7 separate regions of the Homo sapiens genome follow, and regions 1, 2, 3, 4, 5 and 6 are each linked to region 7. The links are contacts of gene promoters, found by promoter capture Hi-C in blood cells and fetal thymus (Javierre and others, 2016). All regions are on one chromosome and are shown on one strand. The core of a region is centred on a gene start or on the middle of the fragment in contact, and the rest is flanking DNA. Distances in the headings are between cores, read along the strand shown.

The links. The method cuts DNA at HindIII sites, captures the fragments that hold promoters and counts their contacts. A CHiCAGO score of 5 or more calls a contact.
Region 1: a fragment that was not itself captured here is called in contact with the fragment with the promoter of TOPORS in region 7 in 1 of 17 cell types (neutrophils); the score reaches 9.5 in neutrophils.
Region 2: a fragment that was not itself captured here is called in contact with the fragment with the promoter of TOPORS in region 7 in 1 of 17 cell types (neutrophils); the score reaches 6.3 in neutrophils.
Region 3: a contact is called between a fragment that was not itself captured here and the fragment with the promoter of TOPORS in region 7, in 1 of 17 cell types (neutrophils). The highest score is 6.3, in neutrophils.
Region 4: a contact is called between a fragment that was not itself captured here and the fragment with the promoter of TOPORS in region 7, in 1 of 17 cell types (neutrophils). The highest score is 6.8, in neutrophils.
Region 5: a fragment that was not itself captured here is called in contact with the fragment with the promoter of TOPORS in region 7 in 1 of 17 cell types (neutrophils); the score reaches 6.8 in neutrophils.
Region 6: the fragment with the promoter of NFX1 here is called in contact with the fragment with the promoter of TOPORS in region 7 in 1 of 17 cell types (neutrophils); the score reaches 6.0 in neutrophils.

What each region holds. Positions count from the first base shown.
Region 1 is chr9:33,305,594-33,309,516 of GRCh38, forward strand. It overlaps NFX1 (nuclear transcription factor, X-box binding 1), which reads left to right. Exons shown (of 24, transcript NM_002504.6): 5 at 1,601-1,706. Among named protein-coding and RNA genes, the nearest start is that of NFX1, 17 kb to the left of the region's middle. The HindIII fragment of the contact is 4,959 bases long and covers 1-3,923 here.
Region 2 is chr9:33,468,325-33,472,341 of GRCh38, forward strand. NOL6 (nucleolar protein 6) reads right to left here. Exons shown (of 26, transcript NM_022917.5): 2 at 3,882-4,017; 3 at 3,680-3,796; 4 at 1,688-1,867; 5 at 1,175-1,343; 6 at 883-1,017; 7 at 634-797; 8 at 428-548; 9 at 184-242; 10 at 1-98. Among named protein-coding and RNA genes, the nearest start is that of MIR6851, 2.4 kb to the left of the region's middle. The HindIII fragment of the contact is 4,549 bases long and covers 1-3,549 here.
Region 3 is chr9:33,150,535-33,154,553 of GRCh38, forward strand. All of the region lies in intron 1 of B4GALT1 (beta-1,4-galactosyltransferase 1), which reads right to left. Among named protein-coding and RNA genes, the nearest start is that of B4GALT1-AS1, 14 kb to the right of the region's middle. RefSeq lists an enhancer at 3,167-3,286. The HindIII fragment of the contact is 1,639 bases long and covers 1,294-2,932 here.
Region 4 is chr9:33,219,416-33,223,147 of GRCh38, forward strand. No RefSeq gene overlaps it. Among named protein-coding and RNA genes, the nearest start is that of SPINK4, 19 kb to the right of the region's middle. The HindIII fragment of the contact is 3,336 bases long and covers 1-3,333 here.
Region 5 is chr9:33,236,934-33,240,997 of GRCh38, forward strand. SPINK4 (serine peptidase inhibitor Kazal type 4) reads left to right here and starts at 3,234. Exons shown (of 4, transcript NM_014471.3): 1 at 3,234-3,336. The coding sequence starts at 3,276. The HindIII fragment of the contact is 4,489 bases long and covers 1-4,064 here.
Region 6 is chr9:33,288,767-33,292,334 of GRCh38, forward strand. NFX1 (nuclear transcription factor, X-box binding 1) reads left to right here and starts at 1,750. Exons shown (of 24, transcript NM_002504.6): 1 at 1,750-1,831. The coding sequence starts at 1,807. It also overlaps the pseudogene LOC100862682. RefSeq lists enhancers at 1-640, 1,346-1,765, 1,776-1,825, 1,795-2,994, 1,976-2,025. The HindIII fragment of the contact is 6,050 bases long and covers 1-3,568 here.
Region 7 is chr9:32,551,057-32,554,770 of GRCh38, forward strand. TOPORS (TOP1 binding arginine/serine rich protein, E3 ubiquitin ligase) reads right to left here and starts at 1,530. Exons shown (of 3, transcript NM_005802.5): 1 at 1,378-1,530. The coding sequence starts at 1,380. It overlaps SMIM27 (small integral membrane protein 27), which reads left to right and starts at 1,271. Exons shown (of 2, transcript NM_001387564.1): 1 at 1,271-1,423; 2 at 1,745-1,951. The coding sequence starts at 1,379. The coding sequence ends at 1,867. It overlaps NDUFB6 (NADH:ubiquinone oxidoreductase subunit B6), which reads right to left. Exons shown (of 4, transcript NM_002493.5): 4 at 1,945-2,888. The coding sequence ends at 2,820. RefSeq lists a silencer at 91-310 and enhancers at 590-1,304, 951-1,160, 1,171-1,500, 1,305-2,018. The HindIII fragment of the contact is 29,085 bases long and covers 1-2,096 here.

The DNA.
Region 1 (3,923 bases), core at 277-2,776, 750 kb after region 7:
GCCTAAATAATTTGGGACTTATAATCCAGATGAAGAGTAGTACAAGCCTCTAAGGAGTGTGATAGAAAAATATGGTGTTAGGTTGATTCCTGACAGTAGTAGGAATGGGAGTCACCCAAAGTTTCATGCTTTTGGAAATGGTGATACCAAGGAAAAGGGCAGGTCAAAAGAAGAAGGTCTGGTGGGGACAGTGACTACAGTTTAGAAATGTTGAGCTGGAGGAGTGAGCAGAACATACAGTGAAATATGTCCAACAGGCAGGTAGCAATATTTGAGGAAAGACCAGGACTTAAGGATGAGAATCACAGCTGAGAGGAGTAGTTAAGACCCTAGCGGATGAAAGGGTACAGAGTGAGAAAAGGGTGTAATGCAGAACACTTGCAGGGGAAAGAAAAGCAAAAAACCCCAAAACATCATTTGGAGTCAGGGACAAAAGGTAGAGCTCTTGAGAGATGTTAGAGGAAAACCAGGGCACTGTATTGGAGCAAAAAAGCACAGAGGCAGGGAGGCTTTTGTGATAGTCTGGAGATGAGGTTTTGGCCAGTTAGAGAGGCAGGAACAGGAGAGCGATGAGGTGAGAGCCACTTTGTAGGAAAAATTGACACAACTTGGTGATTAAGTAGAAAGAGGTGTCAGAGATGACTGTAGTTTTTGAGCGTGTGTGACTCTGACAGAGTTGACGTCACTGACAGAAATAGGAAACCCTGAAAAGGGAGGAGTTATAGAGGGAAGATGTGAACTTTGACTGTGGATAAAGCCAGTTTGAGGTGACTGTGAAACCCCAAGCAAGAATGTTCAGCAGACATTTGGACATATGGGTCTGAAACTGAAGATTCAGGGCAAGAGAGAAAATGTGGATTTGGGGATCAATGGCCTTTAGGTGGATTGCACCTCTCAACATGAATAAAATTTCTGAAAGAGATAGTATAGAGAGAAAAGCAGAGGCCATGGACTGGGGATGGCTGCAATTTAGTGTGCAAATTGCCCAAGTGAGGATGAATTCCTCAAGGGCAAGGAGGAATCCTGTGCCTTCGTTTTACTCTTCCCTGTCTCTGCTGAGTCCATGGAAGATGTGCCATGAAGATTTGCAGTGACATTGATTATAAAAGTATAAGGTCTTTTATGCCGACTTTATAGTTCTGGAATAGGTGAGTTCCTGCTACTCGGGATTTATGTCCTTTCCATTTCTTACTGCCTCCCCCCTTTCCCCACGGTGCTCTTCTCTTATTCCCTCTCTCTGATCCTTCCAGCAGCAATTCGCATATCAGTTCAGAAGTCCAGTTATAGACGACTTGTCTTATAGGTATTTATCTTAAATTAAACGTTTCCATTAGTCAAGATAGTATTTTCGTAAGTAAAAGTGACTTTTTATTTATCTTTCCCAGGTAATCCAAGATTTAAGATTTATCATACTCAGTGAAACTTTTTATGAATAGCATTATATTTATCTTTTTATTTTAAGATATGGGATAATACATTTGTTGAAATAATAAAAACCACACTAAAGTTGCATGCTGCCTAGCTATACTTTACTGTTTCATTAAAGTTGAGAATGTGGTTGAAGTTTGTACCATTGACTCTCTGATCTGATATGTTCTAGGCAAGGTAAAGAATCCTGAGTGGAGCAGAAATGAAATTCCACATAGCTGTGGTGAGGTTTGTAGAAAGAAACAGCCTGGCCAGGACTGCCCACATTCCTGTAACCTGTAAGTTGGAATGCTAATTCCGTTGGGATTGCTGGTGGACATGCTTTGCTGGTGGCTCTAAGTAAACATACCTGGTTAGCATGTAATGGTTTGGGATGAAGGGTGATATGGGACCTCAGTAAATGGTCTCAAATCACCCTGTGCCAGGCACTCTACATCAGTTAACTTGTTGAATCCTTACCACAGCCCAGTAATAGATATTTACCATCTCTGCTTTACAGATGAGGCTCAGAAAGGCCAAGCCTCTTGCCCAGCATCACAGTGGCAGGGCGTGGATGGTGGAGCTAGGGTTTCCAAAGCCAGTGCTGCTTCCATTACATTACACTGCTTGCTTCTAAGAAGAAATGTGACTCATATGTTTTATCCCGCATTGATATCCAGGTCCAAGAGAATGTATGGGAGAACCTTCTGTCTGGGGAAAGACAATTGTTTAGGGTCCCGGTCGGACAGTATTTCCAAGATGTCAAGATGTCAATCTTTTTCTTTCTTTCTTTCTTTTTTTTTTTTTTTTTTTTTGAGACAGGGTCTCGCTTTGTCACCCAGGCTGGAGTGTGAGTGTGGTGGTGTGATCACAGCTCACTGCAACCGCCGCCTCTTGTGCTCAAGCCATCCTCCCACCTCATCCTCCTGAGTAGCTGGGACTACAGGCGTGTGCCACCACGCCTGGCTAATTTTTGTATGTTTTGGTAGAAATGGGGTTTTGCCGTGTTGCCCAGGTTGGTCTCGAACTCCTGGGCTCAAGCAATCTGCTCTCCTCAGCCTCCCAACATGCCAGGATTACTGGTGTGAGCCACCACACCCAGCCATAGGATGTCAGTCTTTTCCCTACAATAAATAGCCAGCTGTAGATTATATCCATAAGCCAGACACGGTGGCTCATGCCTATAATCCCAACACGTTGGGAAGCCAAGGCAGGAGGATTGCTTGAGGCCAGGAGTTCTAGACCAGACTAGGCAACAAAATGAGACCCCGTCTCTACAAAAAAATTTAAAATTAGCCAGCTGTGGTGGCACACACCTGTAGTCCCAGCTACTTGGGAGGCTGAGCAAGGAGGATCATTTGAGTCCAGGAGTTCACGGCTGCAGTGAGCTGTGATTGCACTATTGCACTCCAGCCTGGGCAACAAAGCAAGACCATGTCTCTAAAAATAATAAATAAATAAATAAGTAGACTGTATGCAGTCAGCTTCTAAATACCAAAAAATGCACAGTAATAGAAAAACAGTTGATCAGTTACAAATAAATTTCTACAGGCCTTAACCTCAGACAAAGGTTTAAATCTTAGGTTCAAGTTACTTAAATAGTTATGTAACCTTGGACAAGTTATTAATTTATCTAAGCCTGCATCTGTAAAATAATAATGATAGTAATAATAACACTTATAGGGTTCTATGAAAATTAAATGAATTAGTGCATCTATGCGGCTCGATATAGAGTCTTTCTGGCAAGTGATCAAAAAATGACAATTCTTACTTTTACTACCCAAATCTAAGAGTAAACCAGACATCAGAGTGTTATCTTGGTATTTCTACTGCTTGGAGGAGGGATAATATTGGACCAGGGCCTTGTGATCAAGGCATGGTGGTGGCGCTGGGGAAATGTCAGTGGGGGTAGAGCTGTTTTAAACTGGGCTAGACAGCATGGCCTGTGATCTGCTGGGCAGTCAGATACCTCATTCCCTTTGACTGCTCGCATAGGTCCTTCCTTAGGAAGGAGTTAAGCTATTCTTGCCATTAGTTGTCATTTTCAGTAAATTCAGTAATAAGAAGTTAATCCTGGCTGGGCGCGGTGGCTCATGCCTGTAATCCCAGCACTTTGGGAGGCCAAGGCGGGTGGATCACGAGGCCAGGAGATCGAGACCATCCTGGCTAAGACGGTGCAACCCTGTCTCTACTAAAAATATAAAAAATTAGCCGGGTGTGGTGGTGGGCACCTGTAGTCCCACCTACTGGAGAGGCTGATGCAGGAGAATGGCGTGAACCCGGGAGGCGGAGGTTGCAGTGAGCCGAGATCATGCCACTGCACTCCAGCCTGGGCTACAGAGCAAGACTCCGTCTCAGAGAAAAAAAAAAAAAACTTAATCCTCTGCATGGACTATTTTTCCAAACCCTTCATGACTACCAGAGATTAAAACTGTTGCAGATCAAGTGATCAGCACCATGTCTGAAAGAAAAGAACACCTTAAAACCTGCTCCTGCTCTTTTGTGGCTCTGGAGCT
Region 2 (4,017 bases), core at 25-2,524, 920 kb after region 7:
TGGTAAGTAGAGGCAGTGACATCAGCACAGAGGTTGAGATGGCCTGAGGAATCCAGGAAGACAACGGAGAAGGCCTGGTGGAAGTCAGCCAGGGCCGGCTTGGGGGGTGTAGAGAGAAGCAGGTCAGGATTGGCACCTTACTTGCAGGCCTCCTGGCATAGACCTGGCCCTTCCCCAACTCACCAAAGAGGGATCTGAGCTGAGACATAAACTGATCCCGTTGACTGTCAGGTCTGTAGTGGCTGAAGTGAATCACAAGTGTATTAGAAGGTATCCCCTTCTGGGGACCCAGCCCTAATGACACCCTCCCTCAGCCGATTCAGTTTGCTCATCTGTCTGATGGCAAAACACCAAAAGACTGCTACTGGGATGAGAGGATTCCCAGGAGGAGTGGAGCCCCTGGCCTTTCCCCACCTAGTTGCCTCACCCAGAAACTGCAAGACACTTCTCAGGACCTGGTAGCCACTCATGGTGGTATGGATCTTGCGTGTAGACACAAGGAAGACAACCAGCATGGAGACAAGGAACCCAGTAAACCCACCCTGGCCCTGAAAGAGACAGGGAGAGGCTGAGGTCAGAGCCTGCCCATCACACAGGCGCTCAGGTAGGGAGGCTGCGCCACCCCCAACTCACCTTGTCCAGCTCCCGCTGCCGCAGCCAGACCTTCAGAAGTGCCACGCCATCCTTCAGGCCCTGGGCTGAACTCAGAATGGTTGACAGCAGCTGCAAATGGGACTCGAGAACTGTATCTTGCAGGACCCATGTGTTATAGCGGGGGGTAGGAGGCTCTGGGCTACCTGTGGGATGAAAAGGGAAGCCATGAGAGGAAAAGTCCCCACACCTCTTCCCTCCAGCTCCACCTCAACACCAGGGCCTGCTCACCATCCCCTGCAGGACTCTGCCCTCGGTACCAGGCAGAGCGCACATTGTTCTTGGTTGGCAGCAAGCGGCACGGGCGGAAGAAGTCAGGTGGAGGGCACGGATGCAGACGTACAGTGACCAGGCGCTCATCCTTTCCTGCCAGAGACAGTGAGTGCTGAGACTCTGCAGGAGCCCTTGGAGCCAGAGGGCTCCCCATCCTGTCCCCCCATACTTGAGGCCTCCGTGCCTCTGTGCCTTCTCCTCCAGATTTACCATCCCATGCTATGCCCTCAGCCCAATGTGTGCCTCTCACCACGCGGCCGCAGCAACAGTGAGGGTTTCAGGTGGCAGCCATTTGTGTAGGAGAAGCAAACACTGCCAAAGAGGGGGTCCTGGGCCAGGTGGTGAGCCAAGTGGGCCAGGTAGAGGGCACGCTTGCGGAAGTAGCGCTGGTTCAGCCCGTCCTTGTCCTGTAGGATTTCCTGGAGGGGCCAGGGGAGAAGAGAAGGCCAGGCACATAAGTGCTTGTGGAGCTGTGGGCCAAGGTGAAACCAAGGTGAGAGAGCCAGGGCTCCTCTGCTGACAGAAGTGCCTGAGCCACGGTTAGCAACACTAGGCCCAGTTCTCATATCTGGAGAGCAAAGCTCCAAAAGGACAGCAACTGGCCCGAGGGATCTAAGCTGCCTTCAGGATGCCTGCAATGGTCTGCTCTTCTGATTTAGAATTCTGACTTCAATCCCCTGGCAAGCGGCAGATAAGAAAGAGGGATCCAGGATTTGTAGGTAGTCAGGTGGTGGGCCTCTATCCCCTAAACCCTGGACCTTACCCTGGGCATGGTCAGTGCCACATCCACATTGATGTCTGGTCGGATGCAGGTGCCCAGAAGGTAGCTGCCCACAACAGTAACCTGGGCTGGGGGCAGGAAGCGGAAACAGCCCTTCACGGCATAGGGCACTTGGTGGAGGGGCACTCGAACCCCAGCTGGGAGCCATGCCTGGTCAGTGAGCTGTGGGGGCAGAGACAGGGACACATACTGATTCAACTGCCTTCCTCACATGTACCCTTTATGTCTAGAAGACATTTTAACACATCGATATGTTTGAAACCAAACTCCCAATCTTCCCATAACTATGTCTTCCTTGCTAAGACAACTCCATATGAGTTGCTCAAGCCAAAACCACTTAAATCACCTTAACTTAGCTCTGTTAAGAATACCCATTTTACGAGCCGGGCGTGGTGGCTCACGCCTGTAATCCCAGCACTTTGGGAGGCCGAGGTGGGCGGATCACGAGGTCAGAAGATCGAGACCATCCTGGCTAACACGGTGAAACCCCGTCTCTACAAAAATAATTAGCCGGGCATGGCGGCGTGCGCCTGTAGTCCCAGCTGCTGGGGAGGCTGAGGCAGAAGAATGGCGTGAACCCGGAAGGCGGAGCATGCAGTGAGCCGAGATCGCACCACTGCACTACAGCCTGGGGAACAGAGCAAGACTCTGTCTCAAAAAAAAAAAGAATACCCATTTTACTACCAAAATGTATTCAGAAATGGATCACTTCTCTAAAAAGAAAACTTTTTTAAAACAGAGAGAGGAAAAGATTTAAAAAAAAAAAAAAAAAAGAAAGAAATGGATCACTTCACTACTTTCCTCCCTAGTTTGAGGAGCCACCATTTCTCAGTGCCTAGACTAGTTCCTAACTGGTCTCTCTAATCTCATCATTGTCCCTCTCGATTCTACTTTTGACACAACAGCCGGAGTAAATTTTTCTAAAACTAAACTTTTTAAGGCTGGAAAAGTGAACGTTTTAGGCTGGGCACGGTGGCTCACACCTGTAATCCCAGCACTTTGGAAGGCCAAGGAGAGCAAATTACCTGAGGTCAGGAGTTCAAAACTAACCTGGCCAACATGGTGAAACCCCCTCTCTACTAAAAATACCAAAAAAATTAGCCGGGTGTGATAATCCCAGCTACTCGGGAGGCTGAGGCAGGAGAATAGCTTGAACCCGAGAGGTGGAGGCTGCAGTGAACTGAGATCGCGCCATTGCACTCCAGTGTGGAGGACAAGAGCGAGACTTCGTCTCAAAAACAAAAACAAAAACGTGAACTTTTAAAAGTTAGAGGGCATCACTGTTCTGCAAAATAAAATCCAGCAGTGGCTCCCCATCTCACCCAGAGCAACAGCCAAAGTCCCTACTTCGGGACACAATGCCCTGCATGATATGCTACTTTTCCCCATCACCTTTCTGAACTCATCTCCTTCTGTATTCCTCATTCATTCCAAGGAATGTAACTGGAACATTCCTGCCTTTGTGCCTTTGTACTGGCTGTTCCCCCTTCCTGGAATGCTTTTATTCCCTTAGATATCTATATAGCTGACTCACCTACTTCAAGTCTTTACACAAATGTCACTTCAATAAGGCCTACTTTGTGAACACCCCCTTTAAACTTGTAAACCACTCCCATCCTCTAATACTCCCAATCCCCTTACATTGCTCGTCCTACTTTTTCCTTTTTCCAGTGTTTACCACATTCTAACATTGCCATAGAGTTTACCTGTTATGCTTATCTATTAACTATAACCTCAGCATTACAGCATAGGCTATTATTTACTGATATATCCTAAGAACACAAATACTGCAAGGCATGGAAGTACTTGCTGAATGAATACACAAATGACCACGCTCCCAGCTAAGCTTCCTTGCTGTGAGAATGAGCTCCCTGCACCCCAACCCTTAAACAGAGTAACAGCAAGGCCCCTGTTTGATATACCCCCACTGGAGGTCTCTCTTGGGCTTCCCAGTTCCCCAGGCCACTTGCTTACCTCTGTCTCAGGGACTGAGGGCACCCTCACAACCCGCTGGTTGACCTCCCGTAGGAAGGCATCAATCCGATCCTTCTTCTTCTCTGACAGCCTTACTTCCTTTAGTAGCTCCTCTACCTGTAAGAGAGGGTAGAAGACAGTCCATCAGCCTCAGGGTCCCAGGTACACACCTCGAACAAAAGCTGCAGACACTCAACAGTACCTGTAAACGAAGCAAGCTGGAGTGGAACAAGATCTCAGTCTCCCGAAGGCGATTAAGCTCCTCATTGGTAGGCTCCTTGTACAGTTCTGCCCTGCTGAGCTTCACTGGCTGCAGGAGGCCCTTCGCTGGAGGTTCA
Region 3 (4,019 bases), core at 863-3,362, 600 kb after region 7:
GACAAAACAATAGTAATGAAGAATAGATCAGTGGTTGCCTGGGATTAAGGGTGGGAGGAGAATGTGACTACAAGAGGGATTTTTTTGGGGTGATGGAACTGTTCTGTATCCTGATTGTGGTGGTAGATACACAAAAATATGTATGTGTTAAAATTTATAGACTATATGCCAAAAAGCCAATTTTATTGTAGGTTAATCTAAAAAAATTTTTTTTAAAGTTAAGAATACATCTATGTATAAAGCAGTGGCTTCCATTTTGGCAAGAGCAAAAACAGATACACAAACTATAAATACGTTAGAATAGTTGCCTGTGATATACCTGGGAAATAGAAGTGGGAATGAGGACAAAATAAAACAAATACATGAGGCAAGAGAGTCCATGAGTAGACCCCAATGATGATTATTGGCCATGAAAGGAAGCTTGATGGCTGGATGGAAAGAAGGAAGGAAGGAAGGAAATAAGTAAGGGAGAGATGGCGGATGGAGCTGGATGTGTCCTTCCAGGGCTGTACAAAGGAGGGGGACCCCAACCCCTAGTCCAGACAAAGGTCCCTAAGGCAGGTGTACAGTATTGTGGGGATGAATTCATCAGCCACGAGAGACTGACCCATCTAATGTTAAATTCACTTCCCTGCTCTGACTGCTGACTCACCAGCAGTTAGCTTATCCTGCGGCTTCCCTTGCAGTGAATTCAGCCAGAGATTTCTAAGCTACTCAATAACAGTTCTAATCTTCCCAGTAAAGCTGCAACTTTGCATTCCAGTATGTAAGTAAGTCTCCTGGGAGTTTTATTACTGAGTCAGCTGCCCCTCTAATCAGTTTTGGAGCCCCAGCAGATTTTCTGGAGCTGCGGTGCTGACTACGAGCACATCCTTCTCTCTCCACCTAGAACCAGACCTTGGACTGTGGAGGGCCCACTACTCCTATGGGCCATCTGGGCACTCAGCCAGCCAAGTACTCCTGGCAATATCTCTCTGGTGTCAGGACTACTTTAAATGTAGCCAGCTCCAATTTCCTTCTCTAAGGAGTGGGGATAATTATGCCTTCCTTTCAGATGTAAGTGAAATAATACATATACATACTTATCGCATGTTCTTATTGAGCTAATAGATGTTCAATAAATGTTACTTTCCCTTCTCCCCTGACTCCTTAGAACTTCAGAGCTTACAAATTACTACAGCTCTATCAGCACACATGGCTAAATTTTCACATTTCTACTCTTAGCCACTAGAATCACTGATAGATTTGGAGGAAAACTCTGGGACCTTAAAGGGTCCCTGGAGTATTACATAAAGCTTCTTGCAGCATGAGAGTTGAACAGAAATTCTGTTCATCTTTTGCTGTCGAAGCCAAGTTGGTGGCTTCTAAAGAACCAACTTAGAAGAAAACTCAGGAGAAAAATTTTATCATTTTGGGATGGTGAAGACCTGCTTAAGTATGAAAGCAACCTGAAGTCATAAAGGAAAACATAGATTTAAACACATAAAAATTCAAAACTTCTGGCCGAGTGCAGTGGCTCACGCCTGTAACCCCAGCACTTTGGGAGGATCATTTGAGATCAGGAGTTTGAGATCAGCTTGACCTACATAGTGAAACCCCGTCTCTACTAAAACACAAAAATTAGCTGGGTGTGGTGGCGGGTGCCTGTAATCACAGCTTCTCGGGAAGCTGAGGCAGGAGAATCGCTTGAACCCAGGAGGCAGAGGTTGCAGTGAGCCGAGATTTCACCACTGCACTCCAGCCTGGGCGACAGAGCAAGACTCCCTCTCCAAAAAATAACATAACATAACATAACATAACATAACATAACATAACATAACATAACATAACATAACAACTTCTACATAGCTAAAGAAACCAGAGATAAAGAAGAGTGACAGATGGAGAGACCATATTTACAAATGATATGTAATAAACAAGAAAAATCCACAATATAAAAAGCTCCTGCAAACATATTTTTAAAACTAATAGAAAAATGGGTTAAAAGAAAAAGGGTAAAAAAAAATGGGCCAAAAAAAGGGTAAAAAAAAAAAAGGGTTAAAAAAAAGAAAAAAAAAGTCAGCTGGGCACAGTGGCTCACACCTGTAATCCCAGCACTTTGGGAGGCCGAGGCAGGTGAATCACTTGAGGCCAGTTTGAAACCAGCCTGGCCAACATGGTGAAACCCCATCTCTGCTAAAAATACAAATATTAGCCAGGTGTGGTGGCACACACCTATAGTCCCAGATACTTGGGAGGCTAAGGTGTGAGAATCACTTGAACCTGGGAGGCGGTGGTTGCAGTGAGCCAAGATCGGACAACTGCACTCCACTCTGGGGGATGGAGTGAGACTCCACTTCAAAAAAAAAGAAAAAATACTCACATAAGAAATACAAATGGGCAAGCCAGCCATGGTGGCTCACGCCTATAGTCCCAGCTACTCAGGAGGCTGAGGCAGGAAGATCATTTGAGCCCAGGAGTTCGAGTCCAGCCTGGGCAACATGGCAAAGACTCCCATCTTGAAAGAAAGGATGAAAAAAGAAAGACAGATGGCCAATAAACACGTGAAAATTTGCTTAACTTCATCAGTAATCAGAGAAACATATTAAAACAAGATACTATGTCTGAATATGATACTGGCAAATATATAAAGGTTAGTAACACCCAGGGCTGGTATGAGTGTGAGGAATAAGCACTCCTATACACTGTTAATGAGAAAAAGCCAGAGGGCAAACTGACAGTATCTATCAAAACGTTTAAAGAGCATGATCTTTAAATCTCAAATCAGTAACCTAACCTTCTACCTTAAGACACCAGAAAAAGCAAACTTAACCAAAAGCAAGCAGAATGAAAGAATAAAGATTAGAGAAGTTAATGAAGCAGAAAAATAAGAACAAAGAGAACAAATAATGAACTCAAAGTTGGTCCTCTGAAAAGATCAATAAAAATGACAAGCTTTTGGCAAGACTAAGAAAAAAAGAAAATTCAAATTATTATAATCAGTAATGAAAGAGGGACTATCCCTACACCAACTTTAACGGAAATAAAAAGGATCATAAGGAATCACTATGAAATGTATGCCAACAAATTAGATGACTTAGATGAAGCAAACTCCTTGGAAGACACAAACTATCAAAACTGACTTAAGAAAAAATAGAAGGTCTGAATAGACCTATAACCAGAAACTGAATTAGGAATCAAAAAGTTTTCCACAAAGAAAACATCAGGCCCAGATGGCTTTACTGGTGAACGCTACCAGATATTTAAAGAAGAATTAATAAAAACCGACCACAAACTCTCTCAAAATACAGAAGAGGAAGGAACACTTCCCTACTCATTTTTTGAGGCAGTATTACCCTGATACCAAAACCAAACAAAGATCTCACGACGAAAGAAAACGAACAGACCTTTTCTGACAGTGGTAAACAACTATGAAAGAGAAGAAAGGGAAGGGGAGGGGAGAGGAGGGGAAAAGAAGGGAGGGGAGGGGAGAGAGAGAGAGAGAGAGGAAGGAAGGAAGGGAGGGAGGGAGGGAGGGAGGGAGGGAGGGAAAGACTACAGACCACTATCTGTTATGAATACAAATCAACAAAATACTAGCAAACTCAATCCAGCAACAAATAAAAAGAATTATACACCATGACCAAGTGGGATTTATCCCAGGTATGCAAGATTAATATCTGAAAAATCAATGTATAATATACCATATCAATAGAATAAATGACAAAAAAACATGATCATCTCAACAGACACAGAAAAGCATTTGACAAAACCCATCACCTTTTCATGATAAAAATACTCAACAAACCAGGAATAGAAAGGAACTTCCTCAACCTGATAAAGGGCACCTAGGAAAAACCCACTGCTAACACCATTCTTAATAGTCAAAGACTGGATATTTTCCCCCTAACAAGACACATATGTTGTCTCTTAGCATATCTATTTAACATTGTACTGGAGGTTCTAACGGGGCATTTAGGCAAGAAAAAGAGCTGCTGTGAGAGTTCATGAAAACAATGCATCTGAAGTATTTTTACCAT
Region 4 (3,732 bases), core at 416-2,915, 670 kb after region 7:
TTATAACGTACTGCTAAGTGAAAAAGTAGGGCATGAAACGTATGGTCATTATGATCTGTCAACTATGTTAAATATGTACACAAATATGCGTAGGAAAAAAACTTGTAAGAAATTCACCAAAATGTATAAAGAGATGCCTTTAGATGGTGGAATTAGGGGCAGGATTTTTTTCCTTATATTTTTCTGTATTTTCTAATTTTTCTGTAATGAACATGAATTACTTTCGTAATTATAATTTTTCTTTTCTTCCATTTTTTTTAATGAGAGAGGGTCTTGTTCTGTTGCCCAGGCTGGAGTGCAGTGGTGTGATAACAGCTCACTGCAGCCTCGACCTCCCAGACTCAAACAATCCTCCCAACTTAGCCTCCCAAGTAGTTGGGACCACAGGTGCATGCCAATACATGTGGCTAATTTTTTAAAATATATTTTGTAGAGATGGGTCTCCCTATATTGCCCAGGCTGGTGGCAAACTCTTGGGCTCAAGCGATCCGCACACTTCAGCCTCCCAAAGTGATTACAAGTGTGAGCCACTATGCCCAGCCTCTTTTTCCTTTCCGGTTTTTTTTTTTTTTTTGGCAGGTCAATTGTTACACACTCCTTAGCAGATTCAGACTTTCAGACTTACATGGAACACCAACCTGCTTATTTTGTTTTTTATTTTTGCTTTATTTTTTTTTCTTTTTGAGGCAGGGTCTCACTCTGTCACCCTGGCTGGAGTGCAGTGGTGAGATCTCGGCTCACTGCCACCTCCACCTCCCGGGTTCAAGCAATTCTCCTGCCTCAGTCTCCTGAGTAGCTGGCATTACAGGTGCACACCACCACGCCCAGCTAATTTTTGTATTTTTAGTAGAGACGGGGTTTCACCACATTGGTCAGGCTTGTCTCAAACTCCTGGCCTCAAGTGATCCATCCACCTCAGCCTCCAAAAGTGCTGGGATTACAGGCCTGAGCCACCACACCTAGCCTTATGTTGTTTTTTAAGAAAACACACACATTATGTTATGCTCACGTTATCAGAAACAAATGAGACTGACCCTGGCAAGTCCCAACCAAGGAATCTGTCTCCAGATATGCCTTGGCCTGGTTGACTCTTGGAGTTAACCCTTCAGAAAGCAGGAGGCAGAGACCCTTCTGATGAGGGCTGCCTCTAGGAGTGGGACTGCTTCAGTGGATCCAGCTGAATTGTCCTGAGCAACTGTTGTAGAGATATGGGGAGTACTTAGTCTTCCAGCTGAGGCCAGGTTGGGCCACTGTGCAGTGGGCTGCTGGAAGACAAGTTGAGTCCAAACTAGCCCAGTTCTTGAGGAGCAACCACGTGACTCTATCACCGTGATATGCACAGGTTGTGACTGGTGTCCTCAGACTGGAAAACACAGTAGTGCCAGCTCAATCAGGATAGGAGAGAGACGTATACGTTGACATTTGTCTTCCTATCCGGATGAGTGTGGTCCTGCCTTTGGGCCTTTCCTTGGGCCCTCCCCTCTATGTGAAATGCCATCTCTACTAGCGAGATTCCTGTCTGATTTATTTGTTTAGGTAGAATAGCAAGAAGTCTACATCCTGATGATCCTGGGCATTGGGAGCTCACCTCACCTTCTCTGGACTCTGGAGGGCACACACATATGGTCCCTGCTGGGGGATGCTTCGCACACAGACCGTCTTCCAGAGGCAGGGGCAGGGAAACTGCTGTCAGGTGGGTGTTGGGATCTCTTTATATTTAGTTTTGTTGTGCTGTGGTTATTGATGTTGCGGTTTTCAGTTTCCTTCCCTCGTAGTTACTCCCCACCTGGGCTAGCCACTCTCTACCCATCACAGGCCCAAGTCTGTGAGAAGGGGCTTCTCTTAGGTCCTCACCAAGGCCCCTTCCCAAGGTCCCTTCCCAAGGCCCAACCTGCCCACAGTCTCACCGAGGCCAGCAGGGCCCAGGTCTGGGCCCAGGTCCAGTCCCAGGCAAGGGTATTGTGTGTGCTTCCTGATAGGTCAGGCCGCCCTGAACCCTCCAGGCACACTGGCCCTAAATGTGTCTGCTTCCTGAAGGGTCAGGCTGCCCTGAACCCTCCCTGCGCTTCCTCTTGTGACCAGTGTTGAAGATCAAGAGGAAGAGGAAGAGGCCAAAAATTCTTCACACAGAGCCCTGGGCTCCGAGCCCCTGTGGCCTGTCACTTACCTGGTCCACAGCAGAGGTGGTGTCTCTAGATGAGGGTAATGGGAAGCATCCTTCCCTCATGCCCTGCTCCCTTCCTCCGAGCCATACCCATTACACTGAGCCAGTCACGGCAGACATCTAGGCAGAAGGGACCACAGGGGTGGCCTCGTTGCCTGTCCTTGCTCCCTCCACACTGCATATCTGCAGTCTAACCTGCTGAATCACAGTCCTTGTTAGGTGAGGGCCAGGACAGGAGAGAAGACACTTCACTTGTTGCCACTACCAGTCTTTCTATACCCTATCTTTGTATTCTGTCTGCCTGGCCTAGTATGGAGCCCACTAGGTCAGCCTTTGACCAATACCCCACACAGAAGTATATTTTGGTTCTGTTTACATTCTTGTCAGAAAGCCCGCTATTTTAAGTCAGCGCCTCTCAAACGTGAATGCGCATAAGGATCACCCAGGGATCTTGCCACAGCCTAAGTCCTGATTTGGGAGTTCTAGGTCAGGACATTCTGCATTTCTAACAAGCTCCTGATACTGCAAAGATGGAAGGGACCCAGGCTTATTTCTAGGCTCAGATGAGGTCTTGCTTGTTCTGTGAAGATTATCAGAGTGCTGATGTCAGAATTAATCACTTCATCCATCATTTCCTGAACACCTGGCTCAGCCGTTGTCCCAGGTGCCAGCACAGTCTGCCCACATCTGCTCCCTGACTAGTCTGGGGGCTACTGGGACACGTAGTCTTTGTAGCCGTACTCCCTAGCATGGAGGATGCTCAGCAGTTTGTTTGAGCAAATTAATGAACAAATTAATGGCATTTGAAGGTGATTTGCAAAAGGTATAGGTTATTAATATGTACATATATATTTTGAGATGGAGTGTCACTGTGTCACCCAGGCTGTAGTACAGTGGCACAATCTCAGCTCACTGCAACCTCCGCCTCCCAGGTTCAAGCAATTCTTCTGCCTCAGCCTCCTGAGTAGCTGGGACTACAGGCACGCACCACCATGCCTGGCTAATTTTTTTGTATTTTTAGTAGAGACGGGATTTCCCCATGTTGGCCAGGCTGGAAGGTTGTTAATATTTAAGACATTTCCTAAACCGTGTTCCCTGGGACACCAATTCTGACACCAATTCAGAGGGATGTTAACAGATATTTGTTAAATGTGGTGGGGGAAGTGGGAAGCTTTTGTAATCACTTAATCCAAGAAATGCTGGATGAAAAATAGACTCCTGAAAAGCTTCTCACAGCCTTTAATAAACTAGTGGTCAGTGCCAGTGTCCCAGAGAGAGATCCAGTGAGCAGCATTTCGCTCACTTCGTTGACCATAGAGAATACCTCTTGAGAAGCACCTTGCGGGGCTAGGATGCCGAGGAACAGAGGTGAGGGGCACAGTGAGCACTCTAGTGTTCACTCGAGTCTTGGAGATAATTAAGTTACAAAGGTCTAGAGAATTAATAGACACTTGATGAGGGGAGAGGGATGTCAGAACTGAAAAGCAGAGGAGGATGTTTCTTTCACAGACTGAGTCGTCCCACTTTGGAGTTTTGTTTTGTTTTGTTTTGGGGGTTTTTTGTTTGTT
Region 5 (4,064 bases), core at 653-3,152, 690 kb after region 7:
TGAATTAATGGTGAGGTTTTCTTGGATGCACTGACATCCTTAATGGGCTGTTCAATAGCAGTCGGATATAGGAGCTAGGTTCACACTTTGATGGGATGACAGATTACGAAGTTTGTTACTATGAGTGAATCTAGAAGGTATTTGTCTGAAGAGGAGACCTTGGGGTGGGCTGGGATGGTAAGTGAGCTCAGTACTCCACAGGCTGCCCTTGACTTTACTCTGTACTTTGAAGGATGCAAAATTCAAGCGTCCTGGCTCCTTGCAGCAACTAGAATGTTCAGTAGCCATTTCTGCCACGTGGATAGAAATCTAAGGTCCAAAACAAGGAAGGGATCAAATCCCTTTGCTCCCCTCTGTCCCTTCCTCACTGTAACCTGGGACACTGACAGACAGACCTGTCAGTGATCAGATGAGAAATGGAGAGAGGCCCAGGAGCTTCACATGTGCAAGGGTAGGAGGCAGGCAGATGGCAGACCTGCTCAGCCTAAAGGTGCTTGTGCAAGTACAGGAGGTTCATGCAAGTACAGGAGGCCAGAGACAAAGCTATAAGCCCCAAGGACTCTCAGGGAGGCAGACCTCTTGTGTGAGGAAGGACTGTCTTTGTTCGAAGCCATCCAACAACGAAACTGGTAGGTAGTGAGCTCCCCATCACCATGAATGACCTCCCAGTGGGGCTGCTGTAGGAAAGCCCTAGTGGAAGAAGGGAGATGAAACCCAGATGACCATTATTTTTTATTTTATTATTTTATTTATTTATGTATCTATTTATTTATTTTGAGACCGTCTGGCTCCATCACCCAGGCTGGAGTGCAGTGGCGCAATCTCGGCTCACTTCAACCTCCGCCTCCCTAGTTCAAGTAATTCTCCTCCCTCAGCCTCCCAAGTAACTGAGATTACAGGCACACGCCACCACACCCAGCTAATTTGTGTGTGTGTGTGTGTGTGTGTGTGTGTGTGTGTGTATTTTTAGTAGAGATGGGGTTTCACCATGTCAGCCAGCCTGGTCTCGAACTCCTGACCTCAGGTGATCCATGCAGCTTGGCCTCCCAAAGTGCTAGGATTACAGGCGTGAGCCACCACACCAAGCCTATTTTTATTTATTTATTTATTTATTTATTTATTTAGGCAGTTTCTCGCTCTGTCACCAGGCTGGAATGCAGTGGCACAACCTTGGCTCACTGCACCCTCCACCTCCCAGGTTCAAGCAATTCTCCTGCCTCAGCCTCCTGAGTAGCTGGGATTACAGGTATGCGCCACCACGCCTGGCTAATTTTTTGTATTTTTGGTAGAGATGGGTGTCACCATGTTGACCAGGGCTGGTCTCGAACTCCTGACCTCAAGTGAATGCACCCGCCTCAGCCTCCTCCCAAAGTGCTGGGATTACAGGTGTGAGCCATGGTGCCTGGCCCCAAGATGACCTTTAAAGTCCAATTCCCCTTTTATAAGATGGCGTTTTTGCTTTAGGACAGGAAGTCATCATTAAATATTTTCTCTACCTGCCTAAGCAATGGAAAGATAGCTGCCACCTGCCTCAGAGGCATCCCTGGGACTGTGCAGTTTCCTAAGGAGGAACGGAAGGATCTTGAAGCTGAGTCAAGGATCACTGGGGGCCTCAAGCTAGTCTTGGCCACAGGTCTGGGGCTTCTATGGGTCTGTAGAGGTGACTGGATGGCTGGTGTCCCCAAAGGGACTGTTCTTTTTTTAATTAAAAAAAAAATTTTTTTTTAGAGTTGGGGTCTTGCTATATTGCCCAGGCTGGTCTCTAATTTCTGGGCTCAAGCAATCCTCCTGCCTCAGCCTCCCAAGTGTTAGGATTACAGGCATGAGCCACCGCACCTGGCTGGGGCTGTCCTCAAACAAGAATCCTTCGCCTTGTCATTGGAATATTCTTGCAACTTATCTGCAGGCTTGAAATCTTTCGAAATAAAGTTTTTCTTTAAAAAAAAAAAACACAGATTCTGATTTAAATATTTCAGAGCGAAGCTCAGCATCTGTATTTGTAAATTCTCCCCCAGGGAAATCCAATCTGCAGACAGAGCTGAAAAACACTGATCTAAATGAATTAGAGAAACGTGTATGTAAATAAAATGTATTTTATATATCAGAAATTCTTTGAGAGCAAATATCCAAATGACTTATTAATGTATACTATGTAAGTATGGGGGAGTTTTAGAAACTGATTTTTCTTTAAAAGAATCTTGTCTTTATTTAACCTATGAAGATACAGATGAGGCCGCGTGCAGTGACTCATGCCTATAATCCCAGCACTTTGGGAGGCCGAGGCAGGCAGATCACGAGGTCAGGAGTTCGAGATCAGCCTGGCCAACATAGTGAAACCCCGTCTCTACTAAAAATACAAAAAGTTAGCTGGGCAGGTGGCAGGTGCCTGTAATCCTAGCTACTCAGGAGGCTGAGGCAGGAGAATCGCTTGAACCCAGGAGGCAGGGGTTGCAGCCAGCCGAGATCGCGCCAGGCACACCAGCCCGGGCAACAGTGTGAGACTCTGTCTCAAAAAAAAAAAAAGCAAATGAACACATAATACCTGCAAAGCAAGAAGGCATCTTCCTTTTAATGTTTTATTTTGCCTTTGTTTTGCCTGTTAGTTGTGCCCACTTTGCGGTACAAAAAAATAAGTGAAATAAAAGTAAGTAAAAATGATCATTTCTGCTTACGTTTACAGCTCATTTCATATTCTGCAAAATGTTTTCCCGTCTGCTATCACCGCCGCCATCCTCACAGCAGCCTGGGAGAAAGGCAGAGCCAAAAGTCTCATCTCCACTTCGTGCATGGGTGATCTGAGGCCCAGTTAAGAAAAGTGGCTCTACCGAGGTCCCAGAGTTGGTTGCTGGAGGCACTGGCAAAGGAATCCAGGCTCCAGCCCCCTTCTCTGCCTCCTGCCATCTTCCAGTTGCTTTTTTCCTTTCTCTCTTTCTCTATCTCTTTCCCCTTCTCTCTGCCTTGAACTCTCTCTCTTTCTACTTCAACTTTCCTCTCCTTGCTCCAACCCTCAGATTGGAGTCAGCTTTGCAAGTTGTCCAAACTTTTTGTCACTCTGGAAACCTGCCAGCCCCATGGCCACAGCCCCATCTCATCAAAAGCTCAGCATCTGCACCTAGAGCAAGCCCTTTCCGGATGTCAGCGTGCAAAGATTAACTCTGGTCTCTCCATCTGGCCCTAGATAAGATAAGATTAGGAGAGCGGCACTATAAATAGGCCCCCATCCTTCCTCAGGCGCAGGCCCCAGCCAGCTCAGGCTACACTATCCCAGGATCAGCATGGCCGTCCGCCAGTGGGTAATCGCCCTGGCCTTGGCTGCCCTCCTTGTTGTGGACAGGGGTGAGTGGGCAGAACCTGGATTCTCTGTGGCTTTGTGTTGGTAGGTGAGCTTGGGGTGAGAGCAGAAGCAGGGCCTGGAGCACCCTGTGAGGCCTCAGCTTTTTCCATGTACCTTCATTCTGCATATGCACCCTCCACTGTGCTGGGGAAAGTTCTGGGCTGGGAGAAAAGAAACTTGGGTTCAAATCCTGACTGGCGCAGAATTACCAAAGTCCCCTACCCTCTTGGGGCCTCAGTTTCTCCAGCTGTAAAAGAGGGCATTGTTCCAGTTCAAAGCTGCACTGAGCAACTATTGGGCTGGAGGCTGTGGGGACAGAAGGGAGCAGGTAGGTCCCAGCTCTCAGGAGAGACTGACAAGTATGCTGGGTGCAGGGTGGTGGATGCTAAGAGAGACCTGGCCGAGGTCTTCTGAGCTCCCGATCTCTCTGAAAGGCTGTGGTTTGGGACTTGGGCAGCCATGTGAGCACGACAGAGCCCTTTCCCAGGACTGGACACATATACTTGGGGCAGGGCCCTCTCAGGATCTGGGCCATCCCTGCAATCTCACAGCTACCATGTCAGGCACTGTTCTGAGCCCTTAAGACAGATTAGTGACCCAAACAGAAAAAGCACGGTCCTGATGGAGCATAAATCCAATGGGGTAGAGGAAAAGGGGAAAGGCAATAAACAAGATGGTTACAATGTATGTTAAACGGTATGTTAGAAGCTGATAAAAGTTAAGGAAAAAA
Region 6 (3,568 bases), core at 500-2,999, 740 kb after region 7:
CTGGCCCTCGTCCTCCCTGCCTCTCCTCTGCCTCCCCAACCCCCGCCTACCTACTGCTCCCAGGGGTCTCTCCAGGGGCAGGGGGATTTCAGGAGATGGGGTGGGGGCCAGCCCCTACTGGACCCTTGTAATCTGATTTGAAGACCATCCCCCTGATGGGACCAGCAGCCCCGCTGGCCCACTGGGGGTCCCTCTTAACATCTGCTTGTTGTGGGGGTCAGTGCCACGGTCTGCTGGGGTCTTGGCACTGTCTTCCTGGCCGGGGCCTGGCACCTTAGCCCCCAGCCGGCCCGAGTGGGGGATATCGACACCCCCAGCTAAAGCACAAGCACCTTAGTCATCCCTCCTCTCCCCCTGCCTCCTGGCCTGCCACCCCACCCCAGCGTTTACCCCAAAGCACAATGCCCTGGTCACTTGGCAAGTGGCTGGGCCTGACGGAGGCCAAGGGGCAGACCGGGGCTCCAGCCAGACCCCCGAAAGGAAGCAGGTGCTCCCCCACTTCCAGGACTTAGTTGGGGCGGGGGGCCCAGCTCCTGGGCCTAGGGTCTTCTCACCCCCACCCCCTTGTCCTGGGTAGGCCCCTGCCTGCCCCTCTCTGCCTTTTCCTCGGGTGTCCCTCCTCGAGCCCCTGCGGCACTGGCTTGGGTGGCAGAGCCCACTTGTTTCAGGGACCCCAGGAGGTGGTGCCCCCTGGCTCCTGGGACTGTGTGTGGGTCTGGGGGGTGGGGGGGTGGGGAGAAGCGTCGGGCAGGGGGTGCAGGGGAGGAAACTCCTCACCAGGAAAGCCAAAGACAGGGTTGTGCCTTACCTCAGGAGCCACCCGTTCCCCCTTGCCCTGCCGTTCACCCTCCACCTTTCCCCCCGGGCGGCCTGCTGCTTTTTCCTTCTCTTCCTCCCCTGCCCTGCCCTGAGCTGCATGGTTCCCCTACCCTGGGAAGCCAGGAAGGAATCTGAATGGAGAATCACCAACCACCAAAGAAAAAAAGACTGCGGGGCCCTCCCCTGCCAACTCCCCTTCCCTGGCCGCCCACTCACCCACACCTCTTTCACGCAGGACAGGCTGCCCACCCTGTCCACGTGAAGTGCCAACGCCCTCCCCACCCTGGGCCGAGCCCCCACCCCTCCCTGGGCCCCCAAGTGAGATTGCACATTTAACTACTGTAAGGAGAGGAGCGGCGTTGGCAAATGTGAACCATGAGAATATCGGTGATACTGATGAGAATAAACGCCTTTGTAAAAAAAAAAAAAAAAAAAAAAGTCTGGAGCCAGGCGTGGTGGCTCGCCTGTAAGCCAAGCACTTTAGGAGGCCAAAGCGGCAGGATCGCTTGAGGCCAGGAGTTGGAGAGACTAGCCTGGGCAACATGGCGAAACCCGTCTCTACTAAAAATAGCTGCGCATGGTGGCTCCGCCTGTAGTTCCAGCTACCGGAAGGCTGAGGCGGGAGGATTAGAGACTGAAGCTATAGTGAGCCATGATCAGACCACTGCACTCAAGCCTGGGTAAGGCAGCAAGACCCTATATCAAAAAATAAAAAAAGGAAAACCACAATGATTACGCAAGTCGCCGCCCTCCCTCCTGCGATTGTTGCTATTTCCATCCAGCTACTAGTCTCCTCCTCCCGCCCGACACCTGGCGCGTCTATCTGACGTCACGAACGCGCCACACAGATTCGGGCTGCGCAACCTCTGTGGCCGTCTACACGGCGCGCAGATGCGAATATTCTCGCGGCGCCGGAAGTCCGGGGCACGTGACCTGGTGACAGTGCTGACTTGGCTGTACAGCTCGATCTAGGTTCTGCGGCACGGGATGGCGGAGGCGCCTCCTGTCTCAGGTATTGTCCCGGCCCGAGCGGGACTGGGCCCCTTTCAGGGAGCGGAAATTGGGTCAGTGACGAAGTTCTAGGGCCTCAGCCACTCATATCGCGAGAGTAGCACATGCTAGGGCGTAGGATAGTGGCTCGGAAGGGCCAAGCCCCGCGCATCGTGCGTACGAAGATCTGTGTCTTCTTGGACTAGATGGTGAAGCCCAGTAGCTGGGTTTCGGAGGAGAGAGGACTTGTCCCGGCGCTGCGAGTCGATGTGGGTGCCCTGCCTTCCCACAGGCTGTTTCTGGGGCAGCGGCGCACTGACCTTCGACAGGCGGGCGTCGGCCAGGTCACAGCCAGTGACGGTGGCGGGCTCTTGACGTGTAGGGTGTGGTGTGCTCATACCGCCTGGAGTGGTGGCGTGGGCGCGAGCCGAATTCCAGTAGTTTAGAGTCTCAGCCTGCTGCGAACCCCGTGTGACTCAGTCTCAGTCTCCTCATCTGTCAGTTGGGAGTAGATAAGTTAATTCCTGTGATGGCTCCCGCCCTGTACTGTACCTATTCTGTAATTGTTCACTCACTCCCCCTCCTGGAGTTGCCTCAGTGTGTAGAGACAGCCTCATTTGTTCGTTGATATAACATCCATTTCCTCAGGGTGTTCCATAGATCAGTGTTTTCCAAATGTGTTGGACAGCAACCAAAAGAAACATTTTGCATCGCGACCTTAAATATTGTACACTTACATAAATATAAAAGCGAACCAGAAGTTTCTGGAAGCAGTGAGGTTGGTTGGTTTGTTTTACAATCAGCAATATATTCTGTTTTCTGTTTCGTTTAAAAATATGTCACAGCCCACTGCCTTCATTTGATTTTATGGCCCACTCTGGAAAACAGGGCAGCAGTTTGCAGAATGGAGTTTGGAAACCATTGGTTTGAATCTCAGCTCTGTCCCTGACCAGCCGTTGGGGCACCAAGAAGACCATATATGTATTTGTATACTGGGTGGCAGGTAAAATGTATTTATTACTATGGTTCTTAGTTTAAAAAGTTAGGGCCGGGCGTGGTGGCTCACGCCTGTAATCCTAGCACTTTGGGAGGCCGAGGTGGACGGATCACGAGGTCAGGAGATCGAGACCATCCTGGCTAACACGGTGAAACCCCGTCTCTACTAAAAATACAAAAAATTAGCTGGGCATGGTGGCACGCGCCTGTAGTCCCAGCTACTCCGGAGGCTGAGGCAAGAGAATTGCTTGAACCCTGGAGGCGGAAGTTGCAGTGAGCCAAGATCGTGCCACTGCACTCCAGCCTGGGCGACAGAGTGTGACTTCGTCTCAAAAAAAAAAGTTGGAAAACACACTGCATTGGTGTACCCTAGTCTTGATGTGGATATTAAGTCTTCCTTGGGGTTGGAAAACTTTTTGGGCTGGGTATTTTGTTATTCTCCTCACCTAGTCCTTCACCAGATTCTCTAAACTGGATCTATTGATCGTCTCATCCACAGGCTCGTTTCTGACTCATTTCTGTACCCTTCAGTGTTTGAAGAAGAATTCGGTGGGGCCTAGTTGTGAGTCTTCGTGTTGAACTTTGGTGTTGTGCCCAAGTTATTACCTCCAACCCAGAAAGTATCTAATGAGGCAAAATCTTCTAGTCCAAAGACCTCCTTACTCCTTTTCATGTGCTTTAGTTTGATTTTGCTTTAGTTCCCATTCCATGTTCGTATTTTAGCATCATCTTTAGCCCACACCCTCATCATCAAAGTCTTTAA
Region 7 (3,714 bases), core at 280-2,779:
AACACCCGCCTTCCTCACGCATGCGCAGCAGATGGACGCCGGCCTCGGGGGCGGGGCTCAGCGCACCGGCCCAAATGCGGCCCCTCCCCCGCCGCTCCAGACCCCGGAGGAGGGCAGCGCGACCCTCCCCATCTTGTTACTGGTACTCAGCCACTGGGGACACTGACTGAATGTTCGCCCCTAACTTACCCGGAAAACACGAGAACTAGTTCGATGTCGTTTCAACCTTACCAAACTCTGCGGAAACTTAGGAAATTATCTTTAGTGTCTAGATAGGGGAATTGTTAGATGGACTTGAAGTCTCTCACCTCCTGTTGTACGCCTCCCGGAAGCAACACCAGGAGTCCAACGGGATCCCAAACCAGAGCCCAACCAGTATCCTATAAAGTCTTCAGAGAGGGATCCCCTCCAGGCTGGGGAGAAACAGGACAACCTAACAAAACAGGGCCTGGACTCCTCCCTAAACAGACCACGTTTTTCTCCGCTCTTCCCCTTCCCACTCCCTGAAATCTAGACTAAAACTCTTTTAAGATAACTGCGAGGTATAAAGAACGTCTAGAGCCTAAGCGGCCCGTTGCCAGATTCTACTCCTCAGGCCTCAAATGTGAGCGCCCCAAACATTCTAGAGCTGAACCTGGTACGCTCGCCCACCAAACTGCCGTGCTCGGGGCTTAGTATCTCACGCGCGGCAGTTCAAGAACATCAGACACGCTCAACAAACACTTGTTGCTTGACTGATACATTATGGCGGGTAACGCGTCCCACGTATTTCTTCTTAGAGATATACATTACGCTATACGTTTCTGAAGAATGGCTCGATTTACAGGGGTTCCCACAACGATTTGTCACATATAAAAGAGTGGGTGGTATTTTTACGTCAAAGATGAACAGGCGAACGTCCATCTAAATCGTGTGGTATCAGATGCGGGGAGGCGTGGGGGAGGGAGCGGGGGAGAAAGCGTTAATTCTTCCAGCTTTAGAGCCAGACGTAATATTTAAAACGTGGATTGTTTTTCAAATTAACTTTTAAATGGACACGACAGCACCTTATCCTGCATTAATATTGCATTGCAACTAGAAAGAAAACCAGTGGAGGTACGCCTATCTCCTTAGTTGGCAAAAAAAAAAAAAAAAAAGCAATTTTTAACATTTTCTCGTTTATTCCCCTCTCTAAAAGGCGGGCAAGGCCCCCGATCACGTGATACCGCCCCCCAACTCCGGGCGGAAGAGGCCAGCGACAGCGCTGCACGAAGCGAGTGGGCGGGCGCTCGTGCCCGGCTAAAAGATGGCTGCTGGCGCCTGGCAGCCACCGCCTGGGAGGTTACTGTAAGGCCCGCAGCTCCCGCCAGCTCCCGCGGACTGCTGCCGCCTCCTTACCATGAAGCCAGTAAGTCGTCGCACGCTGGACTGGATTTATTCAGTGGTAAGTCCCGGGGATCGCGGGCCCCCACCGTGTCGACTCACTGGGCCCGCAGGCGGAAAGGCCCTATTTCTTCAGCACCCAGAAACTCCAAAATCCATTCCTGAATTAAGCATTTCACTCCCTCACCTCGACTCCGCCTCTTCCTGGAGGATACGATCTTCCGCTTCTTACGTAAGGGCTGCTGGGTGTACCCGCCACTGGAACCCCATTTATTCGACTTTGTTACTTTAATTCCCACCTTAGCAATGGCAACGGTAACCTGACGGGGGCGAGGGGAAATATCAGGTAGATTTCACACCTCCTTTGCGATTTTTGGTTTAGTTGCTGCTTGCCATCGTTTTAATCTCCTGGGGCTGCATCATCTATGCTTCGATGGTGTCTGCAAGACGACAGCTAAGGAAGAAATACCCAGACAAAATCTTTGGGACGAATGAAAATTTGTAACTCTTCTGGATTTAATTATCTGAAAATACAGTTCTTTCCCTCATGCTTATGTAGATATAAAAATAAAATTCATAATGCAAAGTTCCCAAGTTTATTTTTGCATTATCCTTTATAACAAGCACTAGTATGCAAATTTTTCACTTAGAGATTTTAGTATTTTACATTCTCATGACAAAATTAACAGCAACCTAAATCTGACAGTCTTGAGTGTCAGATCATAGTTGGAATAAGCTTTTCAATCAAGTTTCTAAATTCTTCAAAAATGATTCGGAAAGCTTTTTTTTTTTTTGAGACGGAGTCTTGCTCTGTCGCCCAGGCTCAGTGGCACTATCTCGGCTTACTGCAAGCTCCGCCTTCTGGGTTCACACCAATCTCGTGCCTCAGCCTCCGCAGTAGCTGGGACTACAGGAGCCCGCCACCACGCCCGGCTAATTTTTTTGTATTTTTAGTAGGGACGGGGTTTCACTGTGTTAGCCATGATGGTCTCGATCTCCTGACTTCGTGATCTGCCCGCCTCGGCCTCCCAAAGTGCTGGGATTACAGGCATGAGCCACTGCGCCTGGCCGGAAAGATTTCCTTAAAACAAAAGTGCATGGAATTGCTGTTCTTACATTTGTTTATTGTGATATTTCACTGTTGCATACCCTGATACCAAATTAGTGTAAGTACTGTGTAAGAAAAAAACAAACAAACATGTAACTAAATACTTTTCCATACCGTTTTCCAAGTCAAGAATGACCAGAAAAAGTAGGTAGTCTCTCATATTTGTTTAGCATGTCCACTTTTTACTTATTGTTAAATTACTCAGTCTCAAATTGTACAATGCTTGAAAACAGATATGACAATTTCTGAGATTAAACTTTATTAAAGTTACTTTTCCAGAAAATTCAGTAAATATGGTAATATAGGAACAAACTTAGGCTCATAAGCCTTTTAACTTTTTACATAATCTTTAATGATGTTGATCAGGAAATTCTTTCATTGGTGGAATTACTTCTCCAGTCTCCAGAATTGTATCACCCTAGGAAAACAAAGATACAGTTAGTACAAAAATCTTAAGTCTACAGAGGTGATAGTTCTATTCTGTTCTATGTTCATCAGATCTCACATGGAAAATGTACTTGAGTTCTGGCATTCCCTTTAAAAGGACCCTAGACAAAGTAGAAGCTGACTAAATCTGAACAATCAGTATTCAAAATTTTAAGGTATAGTGAAATAATAGGGAAATTTTCACTCAGAAACAAAATAATCAAAAAGGGCACGAAAATTGTGTTCTCTAAGTGATAAAGGGATAATCTTTTATTTTGTATGACCCCAATAAATGGAGGCCCCAGAAAGAAGTTGCAAGGAAACATCTGCAGTTCCAGATAAGGAGGTAATGTACCCCCAGCAACTGAATGTGTTACGCAATCACCAGTTTTCTGATTGGCTTACATACTGAATACAGAATACAAACTTTGGCTAGGCAGCTGGTCCAGATGTCTTTTCAATTCTTGATATAGATGTGGGCAAAAAGGCATGGGCATTGAAGCCAGAACCAAGTGGTAAGAATCTTGGAACCTCCACTGACAAGCTGTATAGTTTTAAGACAGATTATTCAATTTCAGTTTCAGCCATGTGTTTAAGATAGATTCTGTTAGCCTGCCAGTCCCTGAATGACTGGGAAGAGTAGAATTGTCCCCATACCCACCCCAATCCCTGCCATTCCCTGACCTGGTACTGCTCAGGATTATAGTCCAATGAAAAAATAAATATGTTTATGCCATTATACATTTGGGCAACAATTTGTTAGTACAGCTAGCATTATCCCAATAGAAATCATTGCCTTGAAGTGGCACTAATGCTGC